2 separate regions of the Homo sapiens genome follow, and region 2 is linked to region 1. Evidence: promoter capture Hi-C in human tissues and cell types (Jung and others, 2019). All regions are on one chromosome and are shown on one strand. The core of a region is centred on a gene start or on the middle of the fragment in contact, and the rest is flanking DNA. Distances in the headings are between cores, read along the strand shown. Region 1 holds the start of NEO1 (neogenin 1). Region 2 overlaps ADPGK-AS1 (ADPGK antisense RNA 1).

Region 1 (6,582 bases), core at 1,205-3,704:
CTTTGCTCTAAAGTTTCTTTGTGCACTTATTCCTTGAACATGGGCCTCATGTTCTAACTTTACTTAGATGAAAAAACTGTTAATTTCACCAGTGGTTTAATATCTCTTCATAGATTGATAGTTTAGACAACATAAAAGTGTTGATTAGCAGTATACGTGCAGGCTGAAGTATTTGTTGAAAATCTTGTTGGGAGAATAAGAATGATAAAAGAGATGCCTAAGAAAATCTTTTCTCAGATATGCTTTACTAAACAAAGAACAGGTTAATTACTCAATGATGATTTTTAAAGGGCATGTCGACAGTGTCAGTGACTTTGAAACAAAGTAAAGGAGCTGAATTCAAGTGTGTGCCTGAGTTACTTAACTATCTTGAACTGATTTAGGATCTGTAGCTTTAATCTGGGGCTCCATCTACTAGTGGTTTAATAGAGTGGGTTTTATTAAAATTGTGATTTAATCAGAAGCCAGAAATATACAACTGTTTTAAACTTTTTGATATTAACCTGATATACACAGTGGGCTGATAAATTAGTGAGACAGTTCATATAAGTCATATATGAAAATCAGTCTGTTATTAGCCACAACTCATGTATTTTTCAAAACTTGGAGATAAATGTAAGCTTCATCTCAGAAGTCATATTACACGTTATAGGTTTAATATAATGAAATTTTTCCAGACTTAGAAAAGATATCAGGAAATTAACATTTGCAAGGCAATTTACAGTTTTCAAAGAGCTTTTCTCATTAATTATCTCAGAAAACTGAATAATGATGTGATTATTAAAGGTTAATTAAGCAAATACTTGTGAAGTAATTGGGAGGTAATCTATTTCTAATTTAACAGGTCAATCACGGGTATTTAGGAAATATTTTTGCTGGTTAACAACTCTAACCAAAACAAAAAGGTATTTAAATGGTTTCCCTAGTGAAAAACCATAAGCATGTGTTTCCTCTATTAAGTCAATTGTTTCAAAGAACTAGCATGAGAATTCCTAATTTCACCGTTTTGATGATTTAAGGTTTTATGAAGATTCTGAGCTCTTCCCTCCCGACGTTAATCCATGTCTTACATTGTTCATTTTGGCGCTTTAGAATAAAATATCTTTGGAAAGTAACTATGAGAAAGCACAGAGGGATATGTTAGTGAAATAGCCATTTTCTTGTGGGAAGCAAGACATTTCGGTTATCGACTACACAGAAGAGTGAATAAAACCCAACGCCTATCAACCACCAAACGTGACTCTGCTTGCATAATCATACAAATAAATTTTCTTTAAAAATTTTTCATGGGTGCAGTATATAAAATGATCAATAGTCTCATCAGCAGTGGAACTACAAACTGCTTTCTCCTAACTTTGTGTAGCCTGGGTGCTGCCTCACGATTACTAAGTGGTTTAAAATCATATCCCACTTGCTCCTTGGTTTATCAGCGAAAGACGTGATTCCCAGGTAGGAAAACGCCAAGTGTCCCGCAAAGGTACAGGTAAAACGTAGCAGTTACTGCGAGAAGACTGGCCCCGGGGAGTCCCAGGGCTCGGTCGGGGCCCCCGCACGAGCTGAGGAAGTGGACAGCGGGCACCTTTGTCTGTGCCTAGTTCCCTGGACCCGGGCCGAGCGATGCGGGTGGGGGCGCGGTTCGGGCGGGTCCCGGCGCTGCCCGGGGGAAGCGCGCGGCGACGGCGGCCCGGCTTGGGAGCCGGAGGTCAGCGGCTGCGCGGCCGGCCCCCTCCCACGGGAGCCGCGCCAGGGCCCAGCAAGAGTCGGGCGGGATCGCTATTGTTTTTGGCGAGCACATAAATCCCCGGGCCGACCCACTGCGCACCCAGGTTTCCTCCCGGAGGCCTTTCGGTTTCCTCTGAGGCCCTATATAGAGGCTCCAGGCCCGGACTGTGCAGAGGTGCGCGCCCACGCCGGCCTCCCGGACCAGCCTGAGCTCGGAGCGCCTCTCGCCCTCAGGTCTCTGCAGCCAGAGGCATCTGGGGAGGTGAGGGGGGAATTTGTCCCCGAGGCGAGGAGGAGGAGGCGGGGGCGCGCGGAGCCGAGGGGCTGCGGCGAGCGGGCGGGAGGAGCAGGAGGATCCGCTTCTCCGGGGTTTCCCTGACGCCAGCAGCAGCGCCCGGCGCGCGCGCCCCGCACCCGTCAGCGGCTCCGGGGAGAAGGGGGAGGGGAGCGGGCCCGCCACGGCCCGAGAGGCGGCAGCCGGGATTGGAGCGGGGGCGGGCCGCGCGCGGAGCCGAGGGGGTGCGGGCGAGGCGCGCGCGTGCGCGTGTGCGCGCCCGGGACTCCCGCCCCCCGCCCCCGCCCCCGCCCCCGCCGTCCGCGGTCTCCGCCCCCCTCGCGCTGGTGTGTGGAGCCGGAGTCGGCGGCGGGTGGCGGCGCCTGGAACCTGGAGACCGACCCACCGCCCCCCCCCCCCCGCCCCGGAATGTACTGACTCCCCTTCTTCGCTCTCCTCCCCTCCCCGCCCCCTTGCAGGAGGGAGGCGCCCTGGAGTCTCCCCTCCAGCGAGAGGGGCTGCGCGGGCCGGGCCGGGCCGGGCTGGGCTGGAGCAGCGGCGGCCGCGGGAGCCGAGCTTGCAGCGAGGGACCGGCTGAGGCGCGCGGGAGGGAAGGAGGCAAGGGCTCCGCGGCGCTGTCGCCGCCGCTGCCGCTCACTCTCGGGGAAGAGATGGCGGCGGAGCGGGGAGCCCGGCGACTCCTCAGCACCCCCTCCTTCTGGCTCTACTGCCTGCTGCTGCTCGGGCGCCGGGCGCCGGGCGCCGCGGCCGCCAGGAGCGGCTCCGCGCCGCAGTCCCCAGGTAAGCGGCGGGCGCGGGCCCGGGGGTTCGCGGGGGCGCGGCACCGGCTCAGGCGGCCGCGGCTGCGGTGTTTTTGTTTAGGATCCAGGAGGAAACGTGCAGGAACTTCTCTGCCTCGGCTCCGGTTGCCGAAGAGAAAGGGGATCGCGCGTGGTGGGGAGGAGAAGGGCGAGAGGGGGCGCCACCGGGGAAGGGGCGGCTGCCGGGGGGCAGGTCGGGGGCGCAGGGGTCTAGTTCCCAGCTTTGTACCTGGAGGCAGGTTCACCCCTCGCCTCTCTCCCCTCCCCCAGGCTCATCCCACTTGTAAGAGTGGGACATTCTTGTGCTCACACTAGCACCAGTAGAGGCCACTACACACCTCATTAAATAAACAATCAGACGGCCAATTCATTAATTTTCAGGAAAGGAAAGGGGAGGGGGCTTGAGCTCCTGGTTCCCTGGCCAGGGATTTCCCAGCTTCCGAAGTCTCGAGGAAGAGCTGGCTAGTCTCGAGGGACTCCTCGCGCGGGGATTGGAGCCCGAGTCTGCGGAAGAGCGGGGGTGTCAGAGGGGCACAATTGCCCGCTCACAACCCCTGGTGTTGATTTAACGATGAGGACGCCTTGGAGAGCGGCTCGGAGTGATCGTATCTGTTAGTGTTTCCGTTATGAAATGCCTCTTCTTTCCTGGGGATTACAACTATATTTACAGCCTATTAACCACTCTTAACCAAGGGAATTGTCTAAGCATCAGATTTTAGGTACTTGTACAATGTTTTCAGATGGCATTGTATAAACATTGAACCTCAAAAGCCATTTTCAGTTCTTTTTTGGAATATTATAGATTACTGAAACCACCTGCATTCCTATTAAGGGGACCAACGAACAAAAATGCCAAGCCTTCCGGGAAGGACCTTACGGTATTGTTGAGCAGGATACACTCAGCAGTTGAAAGGCAAATTAGCATGTAATCTGTTAAAATTATTTGACCAAGGTGGTGTACCATAAAACTTGACAAAACTTTCACTCGTGTGAGATATGATATTTTTACATTTGAAAGCAGTCTTACCGCTGAACCAGTACTTGTTTTTCCCTGATTTATATGAAATAATATTTAAAATCACACTGCAAGGTAACTTGACTGATAAACTTTTCATTTCCTTGCAGAGTGTGTATGTAGCTCATGGCTTTTGCCAATGTTAAAGAACAGCTTTAAACGTAAAGTACCACTCGGTATTCTCTAAACAGCTACGTAAACAATAGTGTTTTAATGTCAAATTAAACATCACTTATGTCATGATGTACCCTTATACATTCAGTCCGTATATGGTTTAGAACACATTTTGGTGCTGAAATGCAGGTTACTGATCCAACTGTCTCTTAGATGAGCAAGAGAAATATAACTATTTTGGAAAACAAGTTCCTGTTACTCATGATCTATTTTATATGGAAATTCATATGTAGTTCACCAAATTTCAAGTTTTTGTTTAAAGTTTTGCCGATAATTTTGTAAGTAACTAAAATGCTAGTAATTTTATTACTTAGGATAATAAAAATAATGCAAGCAGTCTCAGGAAGTGGTCTTAACATCTGTTTCAACATTAACTCAATTGACAGGTTTTTATTTTGCACAGATGAGGTGCAAGGCATATGCTCTCTGCCTTCATGGAGTTTACAGTCTGGTGTGTGGGTAGGAAAGATAGCCATCCATCTACTGATTATATAATTAAGTAATTGTGATAAGCACTACAAAGGAGAATAGGTTTTCACAAAGTGGGTACTGGAGTGACATAACCTAGTCTGGGTGTTAAGAGTGTCTCACAAGAACTGAGATCTGAGGAGTGGGTAGGAGTGGAGGTGGGGAGGCTCACAGGTAATTAGTCGTTTAATTGGGTCTAGAACATAGATCTCCTGATTCTCGGTCCAGAGTCCTTCCTGTAAACCGCTCTGCTTCATTACAAAAGCGAGAGGAATAACTGCAATAAGGAGGGGTTGGTCAGTTCTGCCATAAAACTGCGGAAGAGATCAAGAGACTGGAGAACTGAGTAAGCAGCAACTGGAACAAGCTGTCCGCAAATCAGATGTCCTTTGTCAGTAGTTTTATTTTTTTTATTTTTGTAGAGTGATAGACTTATAAATCTTTTTATAGGGGATTATAGTGAATAGATTGTAGGGAAGTGGACATGTTCAGTAGTAGAAGGTGGAGAAAAATAGAGATGTGGGACAATAGGATAAATGGAAAGTGTTTTTCCATCTGAGGTTATAGACATACGGAGGTGGAGGAAAAAGTAAGAAGTAAAGGACTGGTGATAGAAAATGGTCAGCAAGGGAGGAGGGTTGGAATTGAGTAGGAACATAATCTGGTATTCTGAAAAAGGGCAGATTACTGAAAAGATATGTAGAGACCTTGGGGAAGATGACATGGCAGCAGCCTGTGCAATGCATGTCTTCTCTATTTAGAGTGAACATTCTTCACCGAGGACTCTGTAGCTTCTGCCTGAACCATTTATTTCATGATGTGATTCATTGCCTTACAGGGTAGTCCATTTCTGTGTTGAATAACTTCTGTTAGAAAATGTTGCTTTGTACAGTACATTTCACTGTAGTTTTCACCCTCCCCACCCTTCTTACATTTTTTCCTCTTTGCTTACCTTTTTCAGCATTACTCTATCTTCAGGTTAATCTCTTCTCTGATTAATTCTTCATTTGTCTTTCTGGCTTTTCTTGAACTCACTCACTTAAATATTAGTATCTAAAGCTTATCTCATTATACATACTCTGTTTGCCCTCAGTTGCCACCTGTAAGCTAAGGACTCTCTTAGTCCACACTTTCTCACTTGCCACTCGGTACCTTCACTAAATAGGATCTTAGGTTACTGAAGTCCGAAGTTAAACTCTGTGTCATTTTCCCTCGTGCTTCCTTCATCCCCATTCTCTAAACATGAACAAACCAGTTCCTGGCCCCTGTGTCTCATGTTGTTGGAAGGATTGCATGGATTTGTCTTCTTGTGTTGCCTGTCTTGGTCATCACTGTTCATCCACTTGCCCAAGCTGAGATCAAGAAGACCTCCTCTTCCCATTGCCATAGCGGATAGTTCTTTTTGCTTTTTACCTCTCAGCTGTTTCTTGACTCTGAATCGGTATCTTTTCATCTTCATCCCCACCTGGACTAACAGTAGTGGCTCCATAATTAATCTCTTTGTCTGTACTGTTACCCTCTAGAAGTCTGTCCTGCTAGAATGAGCTTCCTGAAATATTTTCCTGAGCATGCCACTCTCCTACTTAAAATCTGTTACTAGTGTTCTGTAGCTTGGGTGTTAGAACTCTTTGGCATGGAGATTGTGAGGCCCTTTGTATTCTTTACCTCTGTTCTCCCAAACCCAATAAAGCCTCATCTCTTGTCACCCCTAACATGCACCTTGCATTCCACCACTCCAGATTAACGACACAGCTTCAGATCTCCGTGCCTTTGCACATGCTGTTCTTTCTGTTAAGTCACTTCTCACCTTGTCCACTTCTGAAACTCCTTATCTAGTCAATGAATTTTTCTCTACCAGCTTTCTCTTCCAAAGAGAGTTATGGTCACTATTCTGTGTTCCCATAGCTTCCTGAGTACTTTTCATCTTCTGTTACTTATTTTCTTGTCTTTTCTGCTAGTCTCAACCTCTGAAGGGGTTGGCCGGGTTGTCTTATTCACCTTTGTTTCCCTAGTGTAGCACTAACATGTAGCATAGAGAAGATAACCAGTAAATGTTTGTTGACTGAATGTTGAATTGCCTTTGTTTTTAACCCGTAGGGCCATACAGC
Region 2 (6,582 bases), core at 2,927-5,426, 260 kb before region 1:
TGTCTTCAACTTTACTATATAATATCTGACATCTTTCCAAAGTGGTATGCCAGTTTATCTTCCCACTGGCAGCATATGAGAATTTCTGTTGCTCCAGCTACACTCCAACAGATTCTTAAAGCTTTGTCATTTTGTAGGGTGTGTAGTGGTATCTTACTGTGGTTTTGACAAGTTTCCATTTGTTGGTTATTTGCAAGTATCTTGCCTCCCTCCCAGTCACTTGTCTATTCATTCTTTTTATAATATCTTTAGTGAGTAGAGTTCTATGAAAAATTATTCTTATTTATGTATTTTTGTAGAGATAGGGTCTCTCTGTGTTGCCCAGGATGGTTTTGAATTCCTGACCTCGAGAGATCCTCCTGCCTTGGCCTCCCAAGGTGCTAGGAATACAGTTGTGAGCTACCATGCGCAGGCTTAAAGTTCTTCGTTTTTAGTGTAGTTACCGTTTTGTTCTTTTTTTATTACTACTTTCCCCTTATCATTGGTGCTTTTTGTTACTTATTTAAAAAATCTTCCCATACTCAGGATCGTGATGGTATTTTCCTGTACAACCTTCTAAGAGCTGTAGGCTTTCACATTTCATGTTTAGGTATTTAATCTACCTTGGAATTGATTTTTGTGTGTTGTGAGAAGAATGCTTATAGATACCCAATTGACCCAGTGCCTTTTACTGGTCATTTCTCAATGACTCTGCATTCCCACCTCTGTCCAATACCACGTGTCTATGTATGTGTGGATCTGTTTTGGGGCTCTTCAATCTGTTCCATTGGTCTATTTGTTTATCAGCGTCTCACTGTCTTGATATCTGTTAATATAAATTCTTTCTCCTTACTCTTCAAGAGTGTCTTGGCTATCTTTGGCCTTTTAAAATTCCCATATACATTTTTGAATCAACTTGTCGCCCTCCCTCCCAAAAAAACCCAATTAGGATTTTTATCATTCTAGGACTATGGTAGATCCCTTCATTTATTTAGATCTACCTAAATGTCTCCCAATATCATATTAGACTTTTTGTGGAGGATTTGTATGTCTTTAGTAAGTTTTATTACTAGGCACTTAATATTTTTAGTATGCTTATTGAAGTAAAATTGATATGCATTAAGTGCATAATATTTAAAGTATACAAATTAATAAGTTTAATATATGTATACACCCTGAAACTGTTACAGGAAAGGGGTCCAGATCCAGACGCCAAGAGAGGGTTCTTGGATCTCATGCAAGAAAGGATTCAGGGCTAGTCTGTAGTGCAAAGCGAAAGCAAGTTTATTAAGAAAGCAAAGTGGTGAAAGGACTGCTACTCCATAGACAGAGCGGGACGTTCCCGAAACTAAGAGGAGGAACGCATCCACCCTAGGTACAATGCTTGTATATATGGAGAGATGTGCTCTGCTACAAGGGTTTGTGATAAACTATTAATTTTCTTAATTATCGTATTTGGCAAGAATCAATATTATTATCTTTCAAGCAAAATTAGGAATGCCTTTGTTCCCCAGATATTGGGATATCTGGACACTCCCGAGTCTGGGTCTGTTTTAGTAAACATTATTAATTTGTTCCCTTAACCGTAAACATCTAGAGGCTAAGAATGCCTAACTTTCTGGGAATTCAGTCCAGCAAGTCTCAGCCTCATTCTCCTAGCCCTCACTCAAAGTGGAGTCGCTCTGGTTCGAATGCCTCTGACAAAACCATCACCACAATCAAGGTAATATAGTAAACATATCCATCACCCCCAAATACTTCCTCATGGCCCTTTGTAACCCTTCCCTCTTACTCCTTCCTGCCTGTACATCCTCCCACTCCCTGTACCTAGGCAATCTGCTTTCTGTCCCTACAGTTCAGTTTACACTTTGCAGAATTTTATATAAATGGGATCATACAGTACATACTCTTTTTGATGTGGCTTTTTTCATACAGCATAATTATTTTTGAGATTTATCTAGGTTATAGTGAATATCAACTGTTAATTGCTCTTTAAAAAACTTTTAACTTCAAAACAGTTATATATTCACAGGAAGTTGCCAAAATGGTAGGGTCTGTGTACCCTTCACCCAGTTTCTTTCAATGGATATATCTTACATAATCATAGTGCAGCATCAAAACCAGTAAACGGACATTGGTGCAAGGTGTATGTATAGTTTTGTGCCGTCTTATTATATATGGAGATTCGGGTAATCACCACTCAATCAAGTTGCAAGAACTGTCCCATCACCACGAAGATCTCCCTCATGCTATCCCTTTAGTCACACCCAACCCCCATCCTCTACCATTCCTAGACCCTGGCAGCCACTAATCTGCTTTGCATCACTGTAATTTTGTCATTCTGAGAAATGTTATAAATGGAATCATACAGTATGTGATCTTTTGAGAGCATAATACCCTTGAGATGCATCCAACACTGTTGCATGTGTCAATAGTTCATTTTTGTTATTTATTTTTATTTTTTGACTGAGTAATGTTCTGTGGTATGGAAAGATCACAGTTAGCTTAGTCATTCACTCATTGAAGGAGAACTCCCCAACAATTGCTCTGGACATGCTGGAATTTTTTTTTTCTGTTCTTTGTTCATTCTTGCTCATGGTGTGTTACAAATATCATAATTCTCCTTTTTCTCTGTGACCTTGTCTCTCAGTCTCCCATCAAGGAGTGATGTCTATTTCTCCACTTCTTGAATCTGGGCTGGCCTTGCCAATAGAATATGGCAGAAGTGACATCGTTCCATTTCTGAGTCAAAGCCTGAGTTGTTGCCAGTTTTGGGCAATTGGTTGTTGCCAGTTTTGGGCAATTGCAAATAAAGCTGCAATAAACAATCATGTACAGAGTATTGGGTGCACATATTTCATATCTCTGAGAGAAACGCCCAGGAATACAATTGCTGGGTTTTATGTTTAGTTTTCTTTTACATCCCCACAGGCAGCATATGAGAGATCCAGTTTCTTCACATCCTCACCAGCACTTGATATTGTCACTAATTTAGGTTTTGTTCTAATGGGTGTATAGTGACATCTGTTTGTGGTCTTAGTTTACATTGCCCTAATGGCTAGTAGTGTTGAGCATCTCTTCATGTATTTATTTGCCATCCATATATCTTCCTCAGTGAAGTGTCTCTTCAGGTTTTTTTTTTTCTTTTTTGAGACAGAGGCTCGCCCTGTTGCCCAGGCTGGAGTGCAGTGGTGTGATCTCGGCTCACTGCAACCTCTGCCTCCTGGGTTCAAGCGATTCTCCAGCCTCAGCCTTCCAAGTAGCTGGGACTATCTGTGCGCACCACCACACCCGGCTAATTTTTGTATTTTTTAGTAGAGACGGGGTTTCATCATGTTGGCCAGTCTGGTCTTGAACTCCTGACCTCAAGTGATCCGCCTGCCTCCGCCTCCCAAAGTGCTGGGATTATAGGCATGAGCTACCGTGGCTGGCTGTCTCTTCAAGCCTTTTGCCCATTTTATAATTGAATTGTTTGTTTTTTGTTATTGAATTTTGAGACTATATATCATATATTATAGATAAAAGTCCTTTGCCAGATACATGGTATGCAATATTTTCTTCCAGTCTTTTCATCCTCTTAATAGAGCCTTTCACAGAATAAAAGTTTTTCTTCTTGATGAAGTGTAATGTGTTGATTATTTTTTCTTCTATAGATTGTGCTAGTTTATTGCTTTTTGTTGCTGAATAGTATTCCATTGTATGGATATACCATTATTTGTTTATCTATTCATTTGTTGATGGACATTGGGTTCTTTCTAGTTTTTGACTATTACAAATAAAGTTGCTATGAGCATTTGTTTACAGGTCTTTTTGTAGGCTTTAATTGCTCTTGGGAAATATCTAGGAATGGAATACCTGAATCATGTAACAGATGTATGTTCCACTTTTTAACAAACTATCAAATTGTTTTCCAAAGTGGTTGTACCGTTTTATATACCTACCAGCATTCTATTAGAGTTCTAGTTCTTCTGTTTGCTTGCCAAGACTTGGTACGGTAAGTCTTTTAAATTTAGCCATTCTAATAAATATGTAGGTATATCTTTGTCTTAATTTTTATTTTCCTAATGACTAATGATGTTGAGCATCTTTTCATATCTTCATTGGTCAAGTATCTGTTCATATCTTTTGCCCATTTTTATTAGATTGTTTTTTTCTTATTACTGAATTAAAAAAATACTCTGGATGCGAGTCCTTTATAAGACCTGTGATTTGCAAATATTTTCTTGTCTGTCTTTTCATTCCCTTACCTGTTATATTGGATTAGTGGCCACCCTACTGACCTCATTTAAACTTAGTTACCTTTTTAAAGACTGTACAGTCACATTTTGAGGTACTAGGGATTAGGACTTCAATATATGAATTTTGAAGGGAATACAGTTCAGCCCATAACACTCCCCAACAATTGCTCTGGACATGCTGGAATTTTTTTTTTCTGTTCTTTGTTCATTCTTGCTCATGGTGTGTTACAAGTATCATAATTCTCCTTTTCTCTGTGACCTTGTCTCTCAGTCTCCCATCAAGGAGTGATGTCTGTTTCTCCACTTCTTGAATCTGGGCTGGCCTTGCCAATAGCATATGGCAGAAGTGACATCGTTCCATTTCTGAGTCAAAGCCTGAGGAGGCCTTGCATGCTTCTACTCTCTCTTGCAACCCTGCACTGCCACATATCAACAAGACTTATCAACAAGCCTGGGATAGCCTGCTAGATGATGAAAGAAATATGGCCCGCTTGCTCCCATCACTCCAGCTGATAGCCAGGCAACCCTAAGAAGCAAAGTCACCTAGCTGATTAGTAGCTGACCACTGACACAAAAGTAAGATCATCTGAGACCAGAAGACAGCCCATCTGAGCTCAGCCCAAATTACTGACCCACAAAGTAATAATAAATAAATGGTTATTATTTTTATGTCACTGAATTTTGAAGTGGTTTATTATTGAACAAAAGCTACCTGATACCCATCTTTTTTTTTTTTTTTTTTGATATGGAGTCTCCCACTGTTGCCCAGGCTGGAGTGCAATGGCGTGATCTCGGCTGACTCCACCCTCCGCCTCCTGGGTTCACGCAATTCTTCTGTCTCAGCCTCCTGAGTAGCTGGGATTACAGGCGCCCACCACCACACTGGCTAATTTTTTGTATTTTCAGTAGAGACGGGGTTTCACTATGTTGGCCAGACTGGTCTTGAACTTCTGACCTCATGATCCGCCCACCTCAACCTCCTAAAGTGTTGGGATTACAGGCATGAGCCACCGCACCAGGCCTACCCTTCCTAAGAGTCTTTGCTCTGGCTCTTACTTTCATCTGGAATACTCTGTGACTTGATCTTTGCATGCCTGGCTGCTTTATGTCATTCATATCTCTGCTCAAATACAATTTCCTCAAAAAGGGCTACACTGACCAATCAATATAATAAGCCTGTAGGTCTCTACGGCTTCTCCCTATTTATTTGTTTATTTTTAGAGATGAGGTCTCACTCTGTTACCCAGGCTGGAGTGCAGTGGCATCATCATAGCTCACTGCAGCCTCAAACTCCAAACACTTGGGCTCAAGCAATCCTCCCTCCTCAGCCTTCTGAATAGCTGGGACTACAGGTGCATGCCACCTTGACTGGCTAATGTTTTTTTTTTAATTTTTTTTTAGAGAAGGGGGTCTCACTATGTTGCCCACACTAGTCTTGAACCCCTGGCCTCAAGCAATCTCCTACCTCAGCCTCCTGGGTAGCTGGGATTACAGGTGTGAGCCACAATGCCCAGCCATTTTTTTTTTTCTTACACAGAAAAGCTCCAATATTCACTTAGATACTGCAGAAGGAAAAGAGAGGCTGAAAGGGTTGGATCAAGGAAGTAGGAAAGGGAATTTCTGGGGCATTTCCTTCCCCCAATCCCAGAATAGCCACAGAAATCACAGTCACCAAGAGCTGCTGCTTCTGAATAACATGACAGTGATGGTAAATTTTCCAAAATGTTGATTGTAACAGAGTTTGCCACATGACCAAACTGGTGGATCATAGAGTGGACAGACATCAGGAGCTCTGGAAAAAAAATTGCTACTCAGTACCTACTCAAGTTGTAATGGGGAGAGAAATGGACTGATATGCCGGATTTTTGTTGCAGAGAGCTGGCAAACTTGCAGTAAGTAACTAGCTGCATTCAAACTGACTGACGCACATAGATGGAGCCCTGAAATCCATAGCTCCGTTGAAGAGGCAGCAGAATTTATCTACTCCGACCCAGGTTTGCGGAATTTATCAACTCCAACCCAGGTGCTAGGCTGCTTGTGGTAGGGAGTGAAGCCATCATGCTGATGGATTTGGTGGTGACAAAGCAGGCTGTCAGGAAGAAGTAGGTCCCCCAGATTCTCCCGGGCAAGGGGACAACACTGGAAACTACATGTGGTAGTTTCCAGTATGTTAGGCTTTTCCTTCTGAAACTTGGCAAAGTAGAATTTGCTGAAAAGTAAGCAGTACAGCTTGTTTTTAATTTCGTTTCTCAAGAAAACCCAGCTAAGTCTCATCATGACTGTTTACTCTTGTTTCTTTTGGGAAATTAACTTCTTAATATAACTTTGACTAAAGATATGTAGATTTGTGGTATGAAAAGAAAAT

What was found. The method cuts DNA at HindIII sites, captures the fragments that hold promoters and counts their contacts. A contact is called where the count stands out against the background at its distance.
Region 2: a contact is called between a fragment that was not itself captured here and the fragment with the promoter of NEO1 in region 1, in 6 of the 25 tissues and cell types used here (IMR-90 fibroblasts, aorta, dorsolateral prefrontal cortex and 3 more).

The regions. Positions count from the first base shown.
Region 1 is chr15:73,050,009-73,056,590 of GRCh38, forward strand. It overlaps NEO1 (neogenin 1), which reads left to right and starts at 2,455. Exons shown (of 29, transcript NM_002499.4): 1 at 2,455-2,797. The coding sequence starts at 2,668. RefSeq lists silencers at 1,575-1,624, 1,685-1,754, 1,845-2,164, 2,395-2,774. The HindIII fragment of the contact is 9,189 bases long and covers 1-6,582 here.
Region 2 is chr15:72,788,068-72,794,649 of GRCh38, forward strand. All of the region lies in intron 2 of ADPGK-AS1 (ADPGK antisense RNA 1), which reads left to right. Among named protein-coding and RNA genes, the nearest start is that of ADPGK, 7.6 kb to the left of the region's middle. The HindIII fragment of the contact is 9,698 bases long and covers 1-6,582 here.